3 separate regions of the Homo sapiens genome follow, and all the other regions are linked to region 1. The links are contacts of gene promoters, found by promoter capture Hi-C in blood cells and fetal thymus (Javierre and others, 2016). All regions are on one chromosome and are shown on one strand. Each heading gives the region's core, a stretch centred on a gene start or on the middle of the fragment in contact. The rest is flanking DNA. Distances are from core to core; before and after follow the strand shown. Region 1 holds the start of LYSMD3 (LysM domain containing 3). Region 2 overlaps LINC01339 (long intergenic non-protein coding RNA 1339). Region 3 overlaps ADGRV1 (adhesion G protein-coupled receptor V1).

Region 1 (3,261 bases), core at 672-3,171:
ATGTTCAGACAGGTCCCATCCCCAATGTATCTTATTATGTATATGCAAACATTCCAAAATCCAAAGAAATCTGAAACACTTCCGGTCTCAAGCATTTCAGGTAAGGACTACCCAACCTGTACTTTCTAGGCATATACTTATCATAAAATGCTTTAAAACTATTTAATATAGTTGAATCCAACCCTTGAAAAGCACTTTCTGACCTTGCTCTAATGGCAATATTATAATGCTTTAAAAGCTCAAGAGTTCCTATTCAGATAACACAGATAACTAATAGCTATATGTTAAGTAGATTATTTCAACTGTTCTCTGAAGTGCTACATTATTACCAAGAACTAGGATTCCTAACTTGACAGCTATGAAACTAAAGAAAACTATCACATTTTATATCTCAAAAGCAGTTTTGAAGTCATGACCACATCTTTTCCTCCAAGGATAACAGTTTTATTTCCACTCATTTAACCAGGTCTTTTTTTAATCTTGTGTCTTTAACCTAGGGAATGTCTTTGAATCCTGTAGATTCCAGGCAAATTTTATACATATGTATATTTTTCTGGGGAGAATTTTCATTGCTTCATATTCTCAAAAGGCATCCATGATCAAAAAAGTTAAGACTTAATATACAGCAATTTACACTTGGCTATACCGACCTACTTATGTGTCTTGTTAGACAGTTTCACCCTAATAATTTGTACTTAGAACTTCAAAATTGGCTTAGTAGTGCAGCTAACTGAAAATCACTAAGCAATGCCCCAAAGCCATTTTAGATACTTGTTTCTATCAACCTCTCTCCACGATATATTTCTAAATATAATTTAAAGGTCAGAACTTCACCTGTCTCACTATCTCTCCACTCCCCTTTATAATGAAATGCAGGCAGCTGACTATCGTGTTACAAATCTGGGTATTCTGAATGATCAAGAACTGGCTGTGTCTTCAACCGAAGTGAACAGACTGACCCAGGCGATCACTCCAGTCTACTACTCAGAGATTAGAAAATACATAATATTTAAGTCATCTGGCTCAATTCTATTCACCTCTCTTAATTCTCTTAGAGCAGGAAAAAGGCACGAACTCCCTTTCAGAAACTTGGAACAAGCCTGCGTGCTACCTAGATTACGAGGGGCCACAAAACAGTGTTAAAGCATTCTTCAGCTCAGTCTGTAACTGAAAACGGTTTCCCAAACACCTTCGTACTGTAGAATGGCTGCTGGGTGTTTCGCCTTGACCTTCTTTAACTAAGCAAGGTGCAATAAGAGGGTCACAGGGCACAAGTTAAAGCTGCAAAGGGACAGAATCAAAGGCACCCTATCCGCTGCCAGGGACAATTTTGTTTTTTAAAACTTAACTACCTCCTCCCTCTGTATTCCACACGTCAAGTTTTTCTTTCCCTGCTATCGTCAGCGAAGATTACGTCTCAGAGTCTTCTGTCACAGCATGACACTTGAACGATGTGACAAGATGCCGTCAGCGAATATTTCACGCCAACATAAAGTCGTGGGAGAAATGCTGTGTTTGGGTGGGAAATTAGCTGCCCAGGTAATCCAGCAGGTAGGCGTCCTTCCTCTGAGCCTCAGTTTCCCCGACAGTGTGACAAGAGGGCCTGGCAGGGCTGGTCTGGAAGTTCTTCCCTGTCTCGGGGGTGTCCGCCACACGGGCCGAGCCCGGCCCTGCAGCCCCCACCACACCTGTGGCCGAGGCTCAGCGCCTCCCGTGAGGACGCAGCTGGGGCTCAACCCCGCCCTCCTGGACCGGGCTACCCTCACCTCCTGCCACCATCTTTACCTGTCCCCGTTAGCAGGGAGCACTCTGCGAGAAGATGGCCAAAAGGTCCGCCGCCGCCGCTGTCCCGGGTAAGTTCATGGCCGAGCCTCTGCTTTGGGCTGACCCCGTCCGCCTCCGCCTCTGCCGCCAACGTCTCCGCCTTCCGGGCCGTACGCCGCCGCCACGTCCGCAAACCTGAGATGCGTCATCGCGTCAAGTGGGCGGAGGTGGGAAGGGGCGGGGGAGGACGCGGAGGGCAGCCCAAAACGGGGGAGTCCAACCACAGGTCCACGCCCGGCACGCAGGCGCAGGGACTCCTCCGGGGCCCGGGGGCGGGTCCAATCCCCGGGCCCGGGGGCGGGTCCAATCCCCAGCCCCGCCCTTGACTCCGCTCCTTCCGTGCCGCTTCACTCCCCGAGGAAAAGATTTGGTGGCCAAGTCAGCGGATCCAACCCGCGACCACCAGCGACCTACTGGCTGCGTCTTTGTCCAGCGTCCACACTGCGCTGGCAGAGACTGTCGGGTGCACCCTGAGGACGAGGCGTGGCTCAGGATGTGTCGGGGAGCTGTCTTGCATTTTTTTCTTGCTGTGCATCTCGAATTTTCTTTAGGGTGGGAAAGGACACCTCAAAAACACTGTTGACATCACGGTTTCAGAAAATTGCGCCATGTTTGTTACCCTTTTCATGCTGAAGACTCCAGACTGCTGCAGAAGAGGCAGAATTCTGGAGAGAAATCCTTGGGGGACCGAGGACGAGGGTTGGAGGGGGTTGTCTCACCCTTCCTGTTTTTAGGTGAGGGAAGTGAGCCACCTAGAGTCAGGCCCCAGGAAATGTTTTCCCTGGCTCGAGGAGTCAAGGGAGTCAACAAATTGTAATCTAACTTATTTTGGTTTGAAAATTAACTGAGTCATTGGTAGTCACCATTGGACTCTATGGAATATTAGCTTATTAAATAAACTCATGACTTCATACATGATTTTTATCACAAATGTGTTAAATGAGTATCATAATGTGTTTGAATTTATGTATGACTTTGGCAAAAGCCGCAACTACTTTTGCACCAACCTAATTAATGAATGTAAAGCATTTTAATGAGTCTGATGTCTCTCAGTGTTGATATTAGAGACGTTGCACTTTGACAACCATGCTAACTGTTACGACAATATCCATTTTAGGCACAAATAGCTGGGGTGCAGGGTGCAGAGCAGTGCTTTTCAGAATGTCTGAATATTTATACATTAGAAAGCCTTTGAAGCTTGGTTTTAAATTGTTTTTCAAAGAGTATGTTTTTGGTTTTCTGGTAAGTGCCTCTGCAAAGGTTAGGAGTTTTGCATTGCAATAGTTTTCTTTTATTAGCAGGGATAGGCACTGTGCTTCCCAGCGCCACAAAAAAAAACTGCAGGAGAAGACTTTTTTAAAAAGTTTGTCTGAATTGTTCTGTGTGTTGTTGCCCTCATGACACCCCTGTCTGTAACCATTTATCACTGAGACGTTC
Region 2 (3,565 bases), core at 166-2,665, 260 kb before region 1:
TTCAGAACAAAAGCCTATGATAACATCATTCTTTTTTCAGGACAATAGAATACTATTTATTAAAAACAAACAAAAAAAAAACCCTAAATTCTGTCCTTTAAAAACAGTGTTAAGTGTGATCAAATATTGTGACTCAGAGGTTACCTGACAAAAAAAAACGTAATATTAATGTAAACAGCTAAAAACTAACCTCCTGTGAATACTAAAGCAAATAAATTATAATCTATTATTTCAGGTTTTCTGTTCTACAACTGCATTTTTATTTATACCTTTTCATTTCAAATGTATGTGCATAAAGTATTTTTATCCCTCAGTAAAAATAAAGCTAGATATTTTCTGGTAAACAGGTAAAACAGCAACTCTGTTTTACCTGTTTCTAAAATCTTCTCTCTGATGTTTTCATCACGGGTATCTTACATAGACTCTAGAAATGCAAAGGCAATACAAATGGTACGTAAGAACCTCCATTAATCTTTGTTTCAAGGAGAATGTGAACATTCTCTGTACAATTTAATATTCCGTGTCCACCCACAAAATTCTACAGAGAAGTGTGTGTGTGTGTGTGTGTGTGTGTGTGTGTGTGTGAGAGAGAGAGAGAGAGAGGGAGAGAATCGGTAAGTTTGATTTTAGTAGGAAATTAGTAAAATATGCATATTACAAATAAAGAGAGTACAAGTCCCCATCTGCCATTTATAGTAAGATTTTATATTTCAGAGCTTAATAATGAACCTCCCTGGGGAAAATTTAATAAAGCAGGTTCCCTGGTATTGCCAGCAGTTGGGTTTTTCTGCATCTCTTATTTTCTTACTCCCCAGGGGGAAAAAAATCTCAGTAAGATTTGTGAGCCTGTATCGAAGATAAATCTAGTGTAGTCTGGACTATACACCACCCAAACTGATCCAGATCTCCCACCCAACCCACTGTTCGTTACTGTTTATAAAGTGCAACATGCCCTGTGAAATGATAGGTTGGAGCATTCTCTATCTGTCCTTACCACAAGAAGTACAAAACCAGTTTAGAGTAACTGGAAATTGCAGTTTCAAATTTAAAGAAACACCAGTTATGTATAGGGTGGGTTAGGGATGGGGGTAGTTCTTAACTGTTCTTTTCTCCTACAGAACACTGAGCGTCTAAAACATGTTCAATCCTGTTAATGCTTGTCAAAAATTTCACAGTTCAGCTTTGTTCAGATTTTTTACTGACTATGAAAAATCAATTTGGTGGGATTCAGATTCATAAAGATGGAAGAGCTGCAAGAGACCTTAAATAACCTTGTTCTACCAAGTCTATAGGTAAAAACTGAGTCCCAAGGAAATTAAGGGACTTGCTCAAGGTTTCACATGTCCAGATTGGAACTCAAGTCTGCAGGCGTCCAGTCTATCATCCTTCCCACTGCTCATTTCATCTATTATTATACTTTAGTAATTAAACAATTTAGAGAAGCTATACAATGTGATTTCACAATTAACATAAAGCAGTCATATTATATCCAGGGTTGTGTAGAATTTCATCTGTGCAAAATTTCACTTGGTATTTAGTCATTACACTCAAATAGTATCATTATCTTTCAATTACAGAGATCAATTTTAGTTCATTAGCAAAATAAAATGCTTGCAGAAGGTCCACACAAATTCTTCAAAGCTGCAATCTTCTAAATGTCAGAATTGAAACACATTTTATAAAAAAAAACAAAATGTGACAAAAGTACTTGAGGTTAAACCACAGCTGTGCAAGACTCAGTGCCCTGCGTGATCATAAATCTGCTAAAAAGGCATAATTCAAAGTTCTGTAAAGGAAAATGTGTGCCATTGCCAACTAATAATATTGCCATTTTCCCCATTTCTTGGATTTTGCAGCTTTTCAAGAAAGATTTGGGTCATAGGATATTGTGACACAAATAAAGTATTATGAGTACAGATTCAACCTAAGATGACCTAGAGGCTGCATAAAGGGAAGATTAGATTAATGTTTAAGCCTTGCAAGAGGATTACTATCTATAGGCAAAAACAATGGCCCAAACAATATAGCTATTAGAAATGATGGTAACCTTATCAGGCTTTCTAAACTGAGAGCCTTAATTGCTATCCAGACAAACCCCAGTCAGCTAAACAGAGCTACCAGCAAAGGGGCAATATTATCAAGTTTAAGTTGATGCTAATATCCTTTTGATAAATCTGTGTTGATATAACTTGGGAGAAGTTATTTACAAAATATATATAAAGTTGTTGCTCCTTAATATGTTTAATTATTGTGAGGTTATCATACTAGAGTTTCTAAGATTATATCGATATTTCAGGTTTAACTTGTTAGAATATGTAAACCAAAACTACAGCCTTTGTTTTTCCAACATATTTTTATACTGTTGTACTTTTTTCTAAAGAAGGAAGTGATGATTTGCTCATACTATGATGTGGCCACACTGATATCACAGCTAATGATCCTTGTGGCACAAATTAAGTTTGCAATAAATGAGATTCTTTTTCTACTAATATGATCAGAAATTTAATACCCAAAAAGATGAAAGGTTTTCAATTTTACCTTTGTACATAACCCTTTTCAACATAAGTAAACTCTTCATAAATTTTGTTATGAAATTTAAATAATACATAGTCTTCTTTGTGATTACTTGTTTCATGGAACCCAAACCCTAAAATTCTCAATTACTAGAAATTCAAGAAGTTTATCATGTTAAACAGTTTACTAATACAGTAGAAAGATTAGAAATATCATTTTGTGCCATACCAACCAAGGGTAGTGGTATTCAGCGAGCCTGGATGGTAAGTAAAGCAGGCAAGCAAGTAAATAGAAATTAGGGGTGCACTGAGAGTTGTCCCATAAACATAAGTGAAGGCTAGGGAATAAGTCAAGAGAACAGAAATGGCCTTTCTTAAAAAATGGATCATGTTAGGCACAGTGGTTCATGCCTGTAATCCCAATGCTTTGGAGACTGAGGCAGGAGGATCACTTGAAGCCATGAGTTCAAGACCAGCCTGGGCAACATAGCAAGACCCTGTCTCTACAAAAAAAAATTTAATTAGCCAGGCATGGTGTTGCACACCTATAGTCCTAGCTAATAGGGAGGTTGAGATGAGATCACTTGAGCCCATGAGTTTCAGGGCTGCAGTGAGCTATATGATCATGCCACTGTATTCCAGCCTGGATGGCAGAGTAAGACCTAATTTCTTTTATTTCTTTAAAAAAAAAAAATGAAGCCTGGTCTAGCAACTAAACTCTTGAGGCAAAAATTAAATATTCTCATTTAATGGGAGGGAAAGATGGACAGGTAATTGTGAGATTATCAATAAGTGTGCACTGAAAGAGCATTGTACCCAGCAATCAAGTCTCCAAGGAAAAGAACTGTGTGTGTGTGTGTGTGATTGAGAGGGCAGGGGGAGGCACTGAGGAATATCCAGAGCTATGCCTGCCTTTGAGGGATTGAAGTCATCCTGTTTTGAAGGACCACTTGAGTGAGCCCCAGGAAAGTTTTCTGCTGCATAGACTAACAGATGGAGGAAGGCCAGAGCTCAATAACAGCAGAACACATCAGTGAAAAGCAAACTAACTG
Region 3 (3,121 bases), core at 170-2,669, 260 kb after region 1:
CAGCAGAGAAGCTTGAGAAGTAAAGGAGGAGGAAAACTAGGAAAGCAGGTGGCACATGAGTATCACATAAGCCAAGACGACAGGACATGGTGTTTCAAGAAGGAAATAGTCAGCTGGAGGGCTGCTGATGAAAGATTAAGAAGCAAAAACAAGTGCCCAATGTTCTTTCTTTGTAGATTGTGTGAGAGGCATACCATTTCAAATCATAGAAATGTAGAAAACTTTGTTTCTTATAACAATGTATGAAGATTTCCGTGTCTTTTACACTAGGAATATAAGTAGATTTAGCATTTTTGCATGGTCTACAGCAGAGTTTTTCCATGGTTTTGTTGTCTTATTTATATAGGTTTTGATTGGCACAGCCTGTGCACACAGCAGGACAGTATTGTACTTATATATTTTTAAAATGTTTATATTTCTCTAATACGTATTTTAATATAGATTTTTATATGTTTTTATCCTATGTGATGACAAATTATTCATGAATACTATAGGTATGTAGTTTATAGTTGCAAATATCTTTTTGTCTTTCTTTCTTTCTTTTTTTTTTTTTTTTTTGAGATGGAGTTTCGCTCTTTGTTGCCTAGGCTGGAGTGCAGTGGCGTGATCTTGGCTCACTGCAACCTCCGCCTCCCAGGTTCAAGCAATTCTCCTGTTTCAGCTCCGAGTAGCTGGAATTACAGGCGCCTGCCACCACGCCCGGCTAATTTTTGTAATTTTAGTAGAGACGGGGTTTCACCATGTTGGCCAGGTTGGTCTCAAACTCCTGATCTCAGGTGATCTGCCCGCCTCGGCCTCCCAAAGTGTTGGGATCACAGGCGTGAGCCACCACACCCAGCTGCAAATATCATTATTTTTAACAAAAAAAAACAAGTTTATGAAACAGGAATTTGATGGAATTATCCTAGAATAATTTTCCTATATGTGTATATATTTTCTTAATACTAGATACCCTGAAATAGTTTTTTGCTTAAAATTGATCTCTATTAAAGAAATACCAAAACCAAAAACATCCCGCAGGTGAACTGGGAGACAGTAGGACCCAACTCTCAAGAAGCCTTACTGCCACAGAATAGAGACATTGCAGACCCAGTGAGCGGGTTGTTCTATTTTGGAGAAGGAGAAGGAGGAGTGAGAACCATAATTCTGACAATCTATCCTCATGAAGAAATTGAAGTTGAAGAGACATTCATTATTAAACTTCATCTTGTGAAAGGAGAAGCTAAATTAGACTCCAGAGCTAAAGATGTTACATTAACCGTATGTATGGCTTTATTTTTCTCACAAAATGTGGATTTCATGGATTTATCAGAAAATACATTTACATTTGTTGAAACTCTATAAGCTTGTGATAAATTGGAAATTATAAAACCAAATAATATCATAATAATTCTGAAGGGTCAAACTTTTTGGTTTTCATGTCAGCTCATTGCATAGCCTGATTATTGGTAATATTTTTTTTAAAAACATTTTAGTATATGATACTTATTTTATAAGCTTGGAGAAAATTTGGTGTTTTTGGAATATTTGACAGTTTTAGAGCAGAGGTATTTGTTATAGCATACCAAACATTGGATATCTTTGTCTTCAGGGAATGTAAAAATTATTAACTAGTTATATTCCAGATAGTTTGAAGGAAAAAATGGTACTTGTTTAGTTAAGGCAAAAAGTGCTGGGACCAAGACTACTGAAAATAATGCAGAGGGATGACCCATTTTTTTGAAGTTTGTAAAATACTCTTATTTGAGATCTATATCAGTCAGAGTTTTCCTGAGAAACAAAACCAGTAGGACAGACATGCACACAGACACAGACACACACACACACACACACACACACACACTCACACACACAGCAGGGTGGAGGGAGAGAGAGAGATTTGAAGGAACAGACTCACATGATTGTGAGGGCTGGCAAGTCCAAAATCCATGAAATAGGCTGGCAGGAAGGAAACTCAGGAAAGAGTTGAAGTTGCAGTTTTGTGGAGCAGAGCAGTTCAGTAAGCTAAAAACTCAAGCAGGATTCCTAAGTTACAGTCTTGAGGCAGAATTCCTTTTTCTCCAGGAAACCTCAGTTTTTGCTCTTAAGGCCTTCAGTTGTTTAGATGAGGCCCATTCACATTCTTGAGGGTGATCTCCTTTACGTACAGTCAGCTGATTGTAAGTATTCATCATATCTCCAAAATACCTTCACAGTGACATCTAGATGAGCGTTTGACCAAACAACTGGGCACTATAGTCTTGGCAAGCTGATACACAAAATTAGTCCTCACAGGGCCTGTTTGCTTCACTCCATGTATATCATAGCTAGTAGGAAGAATTTAGCTAAAATTAACTGATTAAATGTAGTAAATATGAGATGAATAAAGCGAAATTCAGGCATCAAATTACTATTCTCTTGGGATTCTACAAATGGGAGTTTTCTGGATTCTTATTCCCATCATCTTTGGGGAATAAGAACCTACTTGTTTTAGGTAACAGTCAATGTGATAAAGAAGTTTTCAAAAATTAGGTAGCTAAGTAGAGTATATTCAAGTGTCATTTTTATGTTTCTTTCATTTCCTCAGCTTCTCTGTTTGTTAATATGTTGGATACTATAATTTCATCCCTATTGTTTTATAAATTATTTTCTCTGTTGTTTATATTTTTTAGATACAAGAGTTTGGTGACCCAAATGGAGTTGTTCAGTTTGCTCCTGAAACTTTGTCTAAGAAGACTTATTCAGAGCCTCTGGCTCTGGAAGGGCCCCTGCTCATTACCTTCTTTGTCAGAAGAGTCAAGGGCACCTTTGGAGAGATTATGGTATTACTTTTCATTTGATTTTTCAAAGTACCAGTTTGCCTAACAAATGTGGTTAAGAGGGACAGGGAAACTGCATGTTCTAGTTAATTAAAGTTTTTGATAAACTAAAGTTACGTGAGTTTTCAGAGAAACAGAGGCTTTATTTAAACATCTTTGGGCTCTCTCATCAGCATCAACCTCTAGCTATCTCTCTAAATTAAAATTGGTTACAGTTAGTTCAGAAAGATTTTCCTCACACTTAATCATAAAGAACCAAATGATTTTACATTTTATTGTTTGCTATAATGTGAAGGCTTTCCTACTTAAGCCTCTCAATGATT

What was found. Contacts are between HindIII fragments. The CHiCAGO score rates a contact against its expected background, and 5 or more counts as called.
Region 2: a contact is called between a fragment that was not itself captured here and the fragment with the promoter of LYSMD3 in region 1, in 1 of 17 cell types (fetal thymus). The highest score is 5.1, in fetal thymus.
Region 3: a fragment that was not itself captured here is called in contact with the fragment with the promoter of LYSMD3 in region 1 in 1 of 17 cell types (megakaryocytes); the score reaches 7.6 in megakaryocytes.

The regions. Positions count from the first base shown.
Region 1 is chr5:90,527,663-90,530,923 of GRCh38, forward strand. LYSMD3 (LysM domain containing 3) reads right to left here and starts at 1,922. Exons shown (of 3, transcript NM_198273.2): 1 at 1,786-1,922. RefSeq lists enhancers at 1,193-1,693, 2,319-2,578 and a silencer at 1,959-2,208. The HindIII fragment of the contact is 4,420 bases long and covers 1-3,019 here.
Region 2 is chr5:90,268,804-90,272,368 of GRCh38, forward strand. The region is part of intron 1 of LINC01339 (long intergenic non-protein coding RNA 1339); the gene reads right to left. Among named protein-coding and RNA genes, the nearest start is that of LINC01339, 19 kb to the right of the region's middle. The HindIII fragment of the contact is 8,813 bases long and covers 1-3,565 here.
Region 3 is chr5:90,787,051-90,790,171 of GRCh38, forward strand. ADGRV1 (adhesion G protein-coupled receptor V1) reads left to right here. Exons shown (of 90, transcript NM_032119.4): 68 at 1,021-1,260; 69 at 2,652-2,801. Among named protein-coding and RNA genes, the nearest start is that of ADGRV1, 230 kb to the left of the region's middle. The HindIII fragment of the contact is 152 bases long and covers 1,344-1,495 here.